Regions from separate parts of the Homo sapiens genome. Here all the other regions are linked to region 3. The links are contacts of gene promoters, found by promoter capture Hi-C in blood cells and fetal thymus (Javierre and others, 2016). All regions are on one chromosome and are shown on one strand. The core of a region is centred on a gene start or on the middle of the fragment in contact, and the rest is flanking DNA. Distances in the headings are between cores, read along the strand shown. Region 1 has its middle 6.1 kb from the start of TRI-TAT2-1. Region 2 overlaps MTA3 (metastasis associated 1 family member 3). Region 3 holds the start of KCNG3 (potassium voltage-gated channel modifier subfamily G member 3). Region 4 has its middle 57 kb from the start of PKDCC.

Evidence for each region. The method cuts DNA at HindIII sites, captures the fragments that hold promoters and counts their contacts. A CHiCAGO score of 5 or more calls a contact.
Region 1: a contact is called between a fragment that was not itself captured here and the fragment with the promoter of KCNG3 in region 3, in 1 of 17 cell types (M0 macrophages). The highest score is 5.3, in M0 macrophages.
Region 2: a contact is called between a fragment that was not itself captured here and the fragment with the promoter of KCNG3 in region 3, in 6 of 17 cell types (megakaryocytes, M0 macrophages, M1 macrophages and 3 more). The highest score is 7.2, in megakaryocytes.
Region 4: a fragment that was not itself captured here is called in contact with the fragment with the promoter of KCNG3 in region 3 in 1 of 17 cell types (fetal thymus); the score reaches 5.6 in fetal thymus.

Annotation. Positions count from the first base shown.
Region 1 is chr2:42,815,315-42,818,014 of GRCh38, reverse strand. No RefSeq gene overlaps it. Among named protein-coding and RNA genes, the nearest start is that of TRI-TAT2-1, 6.1 kb to the right of the region's middle. The HindIII fragment of the contact is 978 bases long and covers 791-1,768 here.
Region 2 is chr2:42,753,617-42,756,316 of GRCh38, reverse strand. It overlaps MTA3 (metastasis associated 1 family member 3), which reads right to left. Exons shown (of 17, transcript NM_001330442.2): 17 at 1-2,700. Among named protein-coding and RNA genes, the nearest start is that of OXER1, 9.2 kb to the left of the region's middle. RefSeq lists an enhancer at 1-273. The HindIII fragment of the contact is 5,030 bases long and covers 1-2,700 here.
Region 3 is chr2:42,492,684-42,495,383 of GRCh38, reverse strand. It overlaps KCNG3 (potassium voltage-gated channel modifier subfamily G member 3), which reads left to right and starts at 1,402. Exons shown (of 2, transcript NM_133329.6): 1 at 1,402-2,547. The coding sequence starts at 1,883. It also overlaps a transcript of MTA3 not described here. RefSeq lists enhancers at 81-375, 1,700-2,457, 2,458-2,700 and silencers at 1,130-1,209, 1,300-1,349, 1,530-1,619. The HindIII fragment of the contact is 17,203 bases long and covers 1-2,700 here.
Region 4 is chr2:42,103,592-42,106,291 of GRCh38, reverse strand. No RefSeq gene overlaps it. Among named protein-coding and RNA genes, the nearest start is that of PKDCC, 57 kb to the right of the region's middle. The HindIII fragment of the contact is 1,161 bases long and covers 670-1,830 here.

The sequences.
Region 1 (2,700 bases), core at 30-2,529, 320 kb before region 3:
TAATTCTCAAATTGTTGAATGTATTGACCAATACATTGAACACATACATTTACATTTTTTGAGACCCTGTCTCAAAAAAAAAAAAAAACTATGAAACATTGCTTAAAGAAATGGAAGGCCTAAATAAATGGAGAGATATACTATGTTTATGGAATCAGAAGACTTTTTTTTTTTTTTTTTTTGGAGACACAGTCTCACTCTATCTCCCAGGCTGGAGTGCAGTGGTGTGATTTCAGCTCACTGCAACCTCTGCTGCCTCCCTGGTTCAAGCGATTCTCATGCTTCAGCCTTCCAAGTAGCTGGGATTATAAGCATCCACCACCACACTCAGCTAATGTTTGTATTTTTAGTAGAGATGGGGTTTCACCATGTTGCCAGGCTGGTCTCGAACTCCTGACCTCAGGTGATCTGCAGAAGACATATTTTGAAGAAGATAATTCTCCTCAAATTGTTGAACGTCTTGATCAATACATTTAACAGAATTTCTATCAAAATCCAAGCAGAACTTTTCATAGAAATTGGTAAACTGAACCTAAAATTTATATGAAAATGTAAAGGACCTGCAATGGCCAAAAGCATTTTGAAAGAGAAGAACAAAATTGGAGAACTTATAATACCTGGTTTCCAAACTTACTCTAAATCTACAGTAATCACCACAGTGTAGTGTTGGCATAACACCATACTGACAGGTCAATAGAATAGAACGATAGTACAGCAATAGAGCAACACATTTATGGACAGCTTGTTTTTGATAAGATGCCAAGGCAATTTGATCAGGAAAGAATAAGCTTTTCAACAAATGGTGCCATAATTTAGATACTCACATACCCCAACCCCCCTCAAAATGAGACCTTTACCTCACACCATACACAAAAATTAAGTCAACTCAAAATGGAGCATAAACCTAAATATAAGAACTAAATCATGGACTAAAATCTTGGTGACCTTGAGTTAAACAAAGGTTATTTAGATATAGCACCAAAAGTACAATCAATAATGGGTAAAGAAATCAATGAATTGAACTTCATCAAAATGTTAAGATTTTGCTCGTTAACAGATATTAGAAAATGAAAACCCAAGCCACAAACTGGAAGTAATTACAAATTATATATCCACAGGCCAAACACAGTGGTGCATGCCTGAAATCCCAGCACTTTGGGTGGCCGAGGTGGATGGATCACCTGAGGTCAGGAGTTCAAGACCAGTCTGGCCAACATGGTGAACCTTGTCTCTACTAAAAATACAAAAATTAGCTGGCCATGATGGTGTGCACCTGTAGTCCCAGCTACTTGGGGGGCTGAGGCAGGAGAATCGGTTTAACCTGGGAGGCGGAGATTGCAGTGAGCTGAGATTGCACCACTGCACTCCAGCCTGGGTGACAGAGCAAGACTCTGTCTCAAAAAATATACGTATTATATATCCAACAAGGGAACTACATCTAGATTATACAGAAAATCTCTACAACCCAATAATGAAAAGAGAAACAACTCAATAAAAAGCAGACAGAAGACCGGAGTGGTGGCTTGCACCTGTGGTCCCAGCTACTGGGGAGGCTGAGGCAGGAGGATTGCTTGAATCCAGGAGTTTGAGGCTGTGATATCATGCCACTGCACTCTAGGCTGGGGGGCAAAACAAGACCCCATCTCAAAAACAAAAAACAAAAAAATACTTCACCAAAGAGGATATATTAATGTCTAATAAGCATATGAAAAGCTACTCAACATTATTAATGCAATTCATTGTACATAAACTATAACTCAGAAAAGCTTTAAAATTTAAAACTTATTGGTTATCTTTAGAAATTATTAGGGAATCAAAGATTGGTGGAAAAAGAGAAAGAATCAAGAAATTATCCAGTCTTTCTTATGTGAATTGTGCTTCCATAGTCATAAATACAGAAGGAATAATAGAATTAGAAAAGCACCATTGGGGAATCCTCAATAAAAATAATAGATTTAGACCAAGATAATCAACGGCTGCTAAAACATTAGGTTAGAGGCTGGTGAAGGACTTTATAATGGATGGATTCAGCCAACCACGCTGATGAAGGATTAGAGGCTGATGAAGGATTTTATAATGGATGGATTCTGCTGACCATGCTGAAATCATCAATCAAAAGCCATATTTCTAAATGTGGGACAGCCAGACATTATGTACTTTCTTTTGTGGTGCAATAGCACACAGTACCATCTAGAATATATTTTGGGGGAAAAATAATCTGAATATTATAAAGCTTCTAGATATAATTGCCATGAGGGATTGAAGAACATGGGGCTGAAGAAAACCTTGAGCATGCAATTAGCCAAAATCTGTGGGAAATTCTAAAGGTCAACAAAGAAATGTCATAAAAGGGGGTGAAAAGAGAGGAAATTCGAATAGATTAAAAGAGATTTATCCTTTAAATATCTTAAAGGATACACCAATCAAATGCCAAGGACAGCCCATATTTGGATCTTGATTCAAACAAACCAATCTTCTGTAAAAATATTTTTCAGAGATATGGGTAGCAATTTGAAAGCAGATGAGGTATGAGATGAAGCTAAGTAATTATTATTACTCTTGTTGGGTGTAATAATGATACCATGGTTATGCTTTTTTAAAAAAGTGATTACCTGTTGGGTATATATGCTGAAGTTTTGACAGGTTAAATTAAACCATATCTAGGATTTCCTCTAAAATATTCCAGAGGTAAGGGGTGAA
Region 2 (2,700 bases), core at 115-2,614, 260 kb before region 3:
CTGGGGCCCCCTCTCTCTGCCTGGGGAAATGTTTCTGACAAGAATCATGGCTTCTCGAGGCTCCAGCCCCCACCAGACAGGTCCACAGTGTGGCAGGTCCCCCAGTGGCCTTGGCCCCAGGCTCTGGTGACGCGTCCTCCCCTGGTGCCCAGCCAGTCTCAGGATGGGGGCGGCTTGCTGTTGTTGTTCCCCACCTCTGGGTTGCCCCTCACTCCCCTGTTTTGCCTCTCAGCTTTTCTTGTTTTGTGTTAAACAAATCTCTGGATGAAAACCCCCACTTGAAATCCATTTTCCTGGGTGGGCCCTGAGAGATGGAAACTGGGCTGTGCACAAGGGGAATTGTGAAGGGCAGGCTGAAACCTTCCGGCGACACCCTCCAGTCGGCCCTCCTCTCTTGCGCACCTTTAAGAAGTGAAGGGTGGGCAGGCGATGACTGAGCCAGAGGGGGAGATAGCCTGCAGAGCCTGTGTCCTCACCCCAGGGGCATGTCTGCTGGGGGCTGCGCAGACAGTCTCTGCACGTCCACCCATGTGCTCACTGAACCACAGTGACATGCCACTGACACACAGCAGGGACACCATGGCCCCAGAAAGGGAGCGGGTGGCTGGGAAACCCTCTCAGCACCAAATGCTTCCAACGGCAAAGGCACAGACTAGAGGCGCCTCGGCACCCTTCCTCCATTGCCTGGGGGATTCTGTCAGAACGAGGGGGCAGTTTCCAGAGACAAAGGGAGAGCGTGAAGTCTCAGTCAACATCACCCTCCTAGGATGACTGGACTACAGAACCACGAGCTTTACTTACAAGAGGAAGGAAAAGCCTGCTTGGCACACGTGGCTCGAACAAGCTGCGCTTTTCCCAAAGCCAAATGTCAACTGGGTAGATAGGAGGGGCCTCCCTTCTCCTGCTTCAGACCTGGCCTGACTCCTGTCTCCAAATCTCTTGGGCCTGGGTGAGAGGGCCTCTCCCAAAAGGCAGAGAAAATGAAGCTGGCAGCTGAGTCACGGGCAGCTAATTGTTTCCAGAATCTGCAGTCACCACTTAGTAGGGGTTCAGAGAGAAAGTGAAAGGGTGAGGGAATCATTTCCCCTTCTGGGTCCAAGTACGACAATAAATCCAGAGCAGGGTACAGACAGACAGCTTTCCTGTGTCTTTTTCTTTAGGGAAGAAACATCCACGTGATGCGGCACCTCCTCCCAGGTCTTTGCTGAAGGGACCCCTCAGTGGGAACCCTGAGGAGAACCCCTGCCTGCCACCTCCACCCCTCTCACCAAATGCTTCTGACACAGGCCCCACCCTCAGCGCCCCAAGCCAAGACCCAGCACAGCTCCAAGAGTGGGTGGTGGTGGAGACATCCCATGCTCGCCCTTGCAGAAGCCTAAGATGAGAACCAACTCCTCCTCAGAAAAGAAGCTGAGATGTCTGCAAAACCGCCCTCCACCTCACACAGCACGCTCTCTCTGCCAAGCGGAGCTCAGCCTCCGAGGACACAGACATCTACAGCATCATTATCCTTACCAAGTTACCTCGTGCTTCCCAGGGTGTCAATTCAATTGTAGCCACTCTGTCTTGCAACAGCTTGGCTATTTGGGCCTCTCGTATCTGCCATCCAGCTGCCTCCTAGTAACCCCAGAGATGGCTGGGAGATCAGACTCCAGTTGTCTTTCTTGGGACTGTGACCCTGTGCCTGCAAACAGAGGGCAGGGGAGTTGCCAGCCTCACATCTGCTCAGGGAGCTCATCGGGCGCTGAGCTATTCCTATCCTTGCAGCTGCCAGCACAAGTAGCACAGCTACTCAGCACAGCTGAGTGGCCAACTGTGATGCCACCAAGGGCTCGTGCCGAGGGCAGGTGGGAAACACGAAGAGCCCAAGCCAAAGGAGCAGGCAGGTCCCCCGGGGCCTAGGTCACATGTGCTCACAAGATGTTGGGCTGGAGGGGTGGGGGTCATGGGGTTGGCCACACAGACTCATACCCACAAACACAGTTCTCTCACTCCACACCTCTAGGCCAAACAGAGTCTGTCTGCTTAAAATGAAACTAGGTCATTTGTGACCTGCTGTAGGACCCACCTGGCAGCAGTTCTTCATCAGCTGGTTTGGCTGCAAGGGAACAGGGCAGTAAGCAAACGGCTTGTCACAGTGATACACACGCTTGGCACTTTTAACAACTGCTCTTGCTGGAGCTGTCTGTGACCAAGCAGAGCCGGGCAGAACACCAGTTTCTCTCCAACCACAAAACACAGATGATGAGTTTACAGGCTTATCTTTTGTCAGAACCTCGGTAATTCTGTTCCTTGGAGGAGTAGGAGGGAGGGTCACATATAGGAATGCAGAGGGTAAACAGCAAATTCCCCCATTTCAAAAAAACAAGGATGAAGCCTATCGAGAAAAAGCTGAGTGACGGTAACAGCAAGGACAGGGAAATACCTTGAACCTCATAAACACTGGCGCATTTCTTAAGAAAAATCCATTCAGAAAGATGCCATGGCCCTCCTGTACATATTTAGTAACTATACAGCATAAGACCGAGCTGAGCGGACACATGCAGGGTGGCAGCGGCTCTGAGCTTGCAGCAGCCCCACTGCCAAGTGGCCGCTGTTGCTGGGTGGGGCGCAGGGCGCTGCAGAAGGGAGGAGGTGGAGGGGTTCCCTCAGCCCCTCAATTCTCAGCAGGTCTCGCTCCGTAACAGCGAGGTCTCTGAC
Region 3 (2,700 bases), core at 153-2,652:
TTTTTGAGCTTTTAATCACATTTAGTGCTCTTAAGATAAATTATCCAAGTCTGGGGATAAACAACTCACAGAGATTTTCATTCTTTAAGAAGCCACCGAGAGTGATTTTACTTAAAAGACAGCACTCACATTTTCAGTTGTCTGCCTTTTCACTAGGAATCCACTTAAGAACCAGCGCAAAAGGACTCCGTTTGGCGACCTCTAGCGGGCACCGGACAATCCTACAAAATTACGAAAAGTAGAGGGCAATGAAAAACTCTTCCCTTTAACCAGCCAGGTTACCCTGTGGTCAGATGACCGCATCTCACCCTACCCCACCCTTATTTTTTTCTTCTAGTATTTGTTTTGCATCTAACACGGTTCGCCTTACAACTCACCTGTCTCGCCTCCGGCGGGCTGGGCTGCCGGTGTCGGGTGTCAGGTGAATGAATTGCTGGTAGCAGTTTAAAATAATCCCTGCCAAGTGGAACCCGCTTTCTGGGCACGGACAAGAGCGCGGGGTAGATCGCTCTGCGGAGCCTTCACGGGGCTCTTCCCGCTCGGAGGGCCGGTGCTGCAGCCGGGTCAGGGGTGCGCGGGGGAAATCAAGATATTTTGAAAAGGAGGATGCAGACGAAGACCAAGAGAAAGGCTGTTTTTGCCGGTGACAAGGCGTTCCTCCCCAGACTTTCATCCCACTCTAAGGGCAGCATCTCGAGAGGGTCCAGGCGCGCTACACGTTAGGCGCCTTCTCAGGACTCGCGCCCCAGAACGTGGGGGCCGGGGCCGGGTCGGGGACCGCTTCCCTCCGCGGGCTGGCAGGCGGCACCGAGGCTGGGGGATGGGGCGTGTAGCCGCCCTCTGAGCACGCGGTACGTGGGTCGCCCCGCGCGGCGGTAGGAAGAGCAAAGTCGGCAGGAAAAGCCGTGGCTGGGATGCCTTCCCTGAGAAATCCTTAGGGGCGATGTCAGAACCCGAGCTGGGCTCCGGACAGTTTCTGGAAAAAGCTCTCCAAACGCCGTCTGTCCCCGCACCCGAGTCCACACTGGGCTTTGAACCAGGGCTGTTAAAAGGGGCCCTGGGGACTGCCCAATTCATCCCGATGGCCCAGGGCAGGACGCGGGAGCAGGCATCCCGGCGCTGGGCTCCCCGCTCCCCCGCCCTGCGGACCCCTCCCCGCCACTACGGGCCGGAGCGGAGGGGGAGGACGGCGTCACGAGGCGGGGAGCCCGAGGTCCAGGGCGGGGCGCCCGGGAATCCCAGCCCGAGCAAGCCGGGGAGGTGCGGGCGCGGGCGGGAAGCGGAGGGCGGCGCGGAGGGAGGTGAGCGGCGCGCGCGGAGCCGGCGGGCGAGGAGGAGGACTGCACAGAGGCCCCGCCCCCGCCGCCGCGAGCCGGCTCTTCGCCGCCTCCGAACCCGCTCACTTTGCCTCTCGCCTCTGGACGGCGGCGGGGCGGCCGCCGGATTCGCGGCCGCAGGGAGCGCCGGAGACGGGGAGCTATTCCGCCCCGGCGGCTCCATTCGGCGCCCGCAGCCCTCAGGGGGTCGGCCCCGCGGCTTGGGAGAGGGCACCGCGGCCTCGGTGTGCGCAGCCCTCGGGCGCGAGGGTCGGCGGCGCGGACACAGCCGCGTTCCCAGCCGGTGGGGCTCAGCGCTGGCGCCGGCGAGGACTCCCCGGCCACCCGCAGGTACCGCCGGGCGGAGGGCGCGCTACTAGCAGCGCCGGAGATACTCGAGCCCAGGGACCCCCGGGCCAGCGGAGGGCAGGAGCGGAGCCCCGAGGGAGCGCGGGCCCCGACGGCGCGCTCCCCCGTCAGCCACGGGCAGGCAGGCCCCGCGTGGCGGCTTGGGGTGGGGGGCTGCAGCGGGGCCCTCGGGCCGAAAGTCCCCCGGGCGGCCAGCCATGACCTTCGGGCGCAGCGGGGCGGCCTCGGTGGTGCTGAACGTGGGCGGCGCCCGGTATTCGCTGTCCCGGGAGCTGCTGAAGGACTTCCCGCTGCGCCGCGTGAGCCGGCTGCACGGCTGCCGCTCCGAGCGCGACGTGCTCGAGGTGTGCGACGACTACGACCGCGAGCGCAACGAGTACTTCTTCGACCGGCACTCGGAGGCCTTCGGCTTCATCCTGCTCTACGTGCGCGGCCACGGCAAGCTGCGCTTCGCGCCGCGGATGTGCGAGCTCTCCTTCTACAACGAGATGATCTACTGGGGCCTGGAGGGCGCGCACCTCGAGTACTGCTGCCAGCGCCGCCTCGACGACCGCATGTCCGACACCTACACCTTCTACTCGGCCGACGAGCCGGGCGTGCTGGGCCGCGACGAGGCGCGCCCCGGCGGGGCCGAGGCGGCTCCCTCCAGGCGCTGGCTGGAGCGCATGCGGCGGACCTTCGAGGAGCCCACGTCGTCGCTGGCCGCGCAGATCCTGGCTAGCGTGTCGGTGGTGTTCGTGATCGTGTCCATGGTGGTGCTGTGCGCCAGCACGTTGCCCGACTGGCGCAACGCAGCCGCCGACAACCGCAGCCTGGATGACCGGAGCAGGTACTCCGCCGGCCCTGGGAGGGAGCCCTCCGGGTAGGACGCACTGCTTCTCTACCCGTCCCGTCCGTCCTGTCGCGTCTGTCCGTCCCGTCCATACGTCCCGTCTCCGTCCTGTCCGCCTCCGGGCGACCGAGCCAGCGGGGTGCGCGCCCAGCGAGGCCCAGGCGCGGCCAACTACGGGACCGG
Region 4 (2,700 bases), core at 1-2,500, 390 kb after region 3:
TTGAATAGATTTTTTGCTCTCTGATTACTGAATTTCCTGTTTCTCTGAAAGCCTGAAATGTACTTGATCACATCCACCCTCCTCCCCACCCCAGAGGGCACATCCGGGGCTCTGTTGACACATTTGTCACATGGGCGACTTTCAAAAACAGTCGGAGTTCAAATATCCACAGAGCTGAATGCCTCCCCACCCCCCAGAGAGGCATTTGGGGATGGTTGAGGCTGTCCCAAGGGCTATCAGATAGATCCTTTTAAGTAAGGCCTTTTCATTCATTCCCACATTTCCATATAAAACCTTCCCTCACTCTGCCTCCTCTCTGCCTGCCCATTAAACTGCTTTGGCGGGAGGAGCCTCCAAATTGGGGGAAGACAATTTTTGCTCACGTGGTCTGTGTTTCAGAGAACACAGCTGCTCACCATCTTGGTGAATGAGATCGTGCTTCCATCCTGGCTGCTCAAACCCAAGTTTATCACTGGTGCCTCCTCTTCACTCAGCTTCTCCTCTGGACGTAGCTTTGTCCTGATCAAAAGCCAGATCCATTCCTTTGGACTCGCTTATAGCCTAAGTCGGCAGCCATCTAATCACCTCCAGACTTTGCCTCTGACTATCACCCAAGGCACTGCCAAAGAAGAGTTGCAGGGAAGGGGGCCCAGGATGCTAAGAAAAGCTTGGTGTTTGCTGAATTAAGTGAGAGGATGAGCTCTTGGGAAACAGGTGATGTTTCTGTCACACACCCTAGTTTCATAACAGCTGTTTAAACACCAACTTCTCGTCTTGTGGTTTTATAGAACTGTAGAAATCTTTTCTGCTGTGCTCTGGCCATGGCCTGACGCTGTCTGGCGGAGCAATGCTTTCTCTCCGTAATTTACCTCAATTAATTTCCCTTAACCAGCTCTCAGAATAAGATCTCCATGCTGCGATGTGACTAGTTAGATTCAATAGTTACCTGTTTAGGGAATATTTGCATTTTGGTGTGAGAGGAGGGGTGGGCCAAGCAGTTGGTGAGAGAAAGAGACAGGATGGGATGGTGGAGCCTGTGGTAGACTGCAGAATACAGGTCAGTGTGGCCAGATTTTTAGTTTTGGGGAAACTGTTTACAAATCCAGATATTTCGGTATAATCTTCCAATTTAAAATTTTTGGTAATTAATTCGTTTTTAAAAAAACGCTAGGTGTACCAGATAAAATACATATTTGAGTCACCTTGGACCATGGACCAAGGTGAGGTAGCAGTGACATGCATAAATGGAAGCACACTTTTGGATTAAATGTGTTTGGTGTTAAGCACAATGGTTCTTTTATGGTTGATTTTTGGCAAAAATGCCAGTGGCGCTGCCCTGTGGTCCTGAAATCATACTGGAAAGGCTGGCCCAGGACTGACTCTGGCCTTGGTGACTTGCATCTAGTTCATTTGGAATCCGGTTCCTATGGATAGTTTCTTCCTCAGTATAGGTTGCCTGGGTCCCTCAGGAAAGCCATCGAATTCAATGTGAATGCAATCACTCAGGTCGACTAAAGGCAGGTGAGTGTAACAGGAAGGTCTTCCTCACTGTGAAGGATGGCTGAAGACTGCAATAGAGTCCTTTCCATCTCTGATCAGAGAGACTGGCAGAGTTTATTGTACAGCACAGGTTTAACACATGACCTCTGGAATCAGATCCGTGGGTTCAAACTTCTCCCCTATTAGCTGGGTGTCCTCGGGCAAGTTAATTAGTCTCTCTAAACTCAGATTTTTAATCTGTAAAACGGGGAGTTAATAGTTCCTTCTAAGTAGTATTCAGTGAGATGGCGCTTGCAAAGTGCTTCCGTAGCAGTTCCTAAAGTGTAAGCTTCTACATCAGAAATGGGGTGTGACTTCATGTTTAGAAGACTCACTCACTATGTTTTAAATTTTGCTGGGGCTCAGAAAATGATAAGTCAAAGTATAATGCCTTGGCGTGCTGAGTACTTTGAACTAAAGGAGATTGGAAGGCCTTAGAAGCAGTCTCAGAAGTAAAATCTCTCTCTGAACTTCTCTTGCCCTATTTCCCACCCCTTCTTCTCCCTGAATTCATAGAAACTAGAATTCCTCTTCCCTATGGCAGGTCATAATAACTAGAATCCCTTTCCCCCAAAGCAAGCCATAAAATCTAGAACTGTTACTCTAAGTTCCCCCTGCCTTTCTGTGTAGGCACTGGCCATGAAGAGATTCTCTGATCTACCTCTGACTGTGAGTTATAAGACCCGTGCTCCAGAAAGCCCCTGCCCCACACCCAGGAGGAAGGAATGCTGCTCAGAGAGGCCAAGAAGAATCTGAACAGACAGGCCTTGCTGGGTTTCTCCCCTCAGTCTGTTACCATTAGATCGCATCCTTTTGTCTATTTTTATGCTTAGGTTCAACGAAGAATGGACAGTGTGTATTTCTACCTAGGCATAAAAATAGACAGTTTTCCCTGGGTCACTGGGTTTTCATTTCTGAAGGCTCCTGTGTCCCATAAAACTTTGATTCGGTAAATTTGCTATGCTTTTCTCTTGTTAATCAGTCTTTTGCTATAGCAATGACCCTTATGAAGGGTGAGGAAAGGTATCTCACATCTTTTCTACCCCGCCCCCCCCCCACAATAGGGATTTATTGAACTGCACCACACCAAGTCCCAGACCCAGGAGACTGGGCTCAGAAAGTCCCACTGAGTTCCTAGGTACCAGCCTTCTGGTAGAGCAG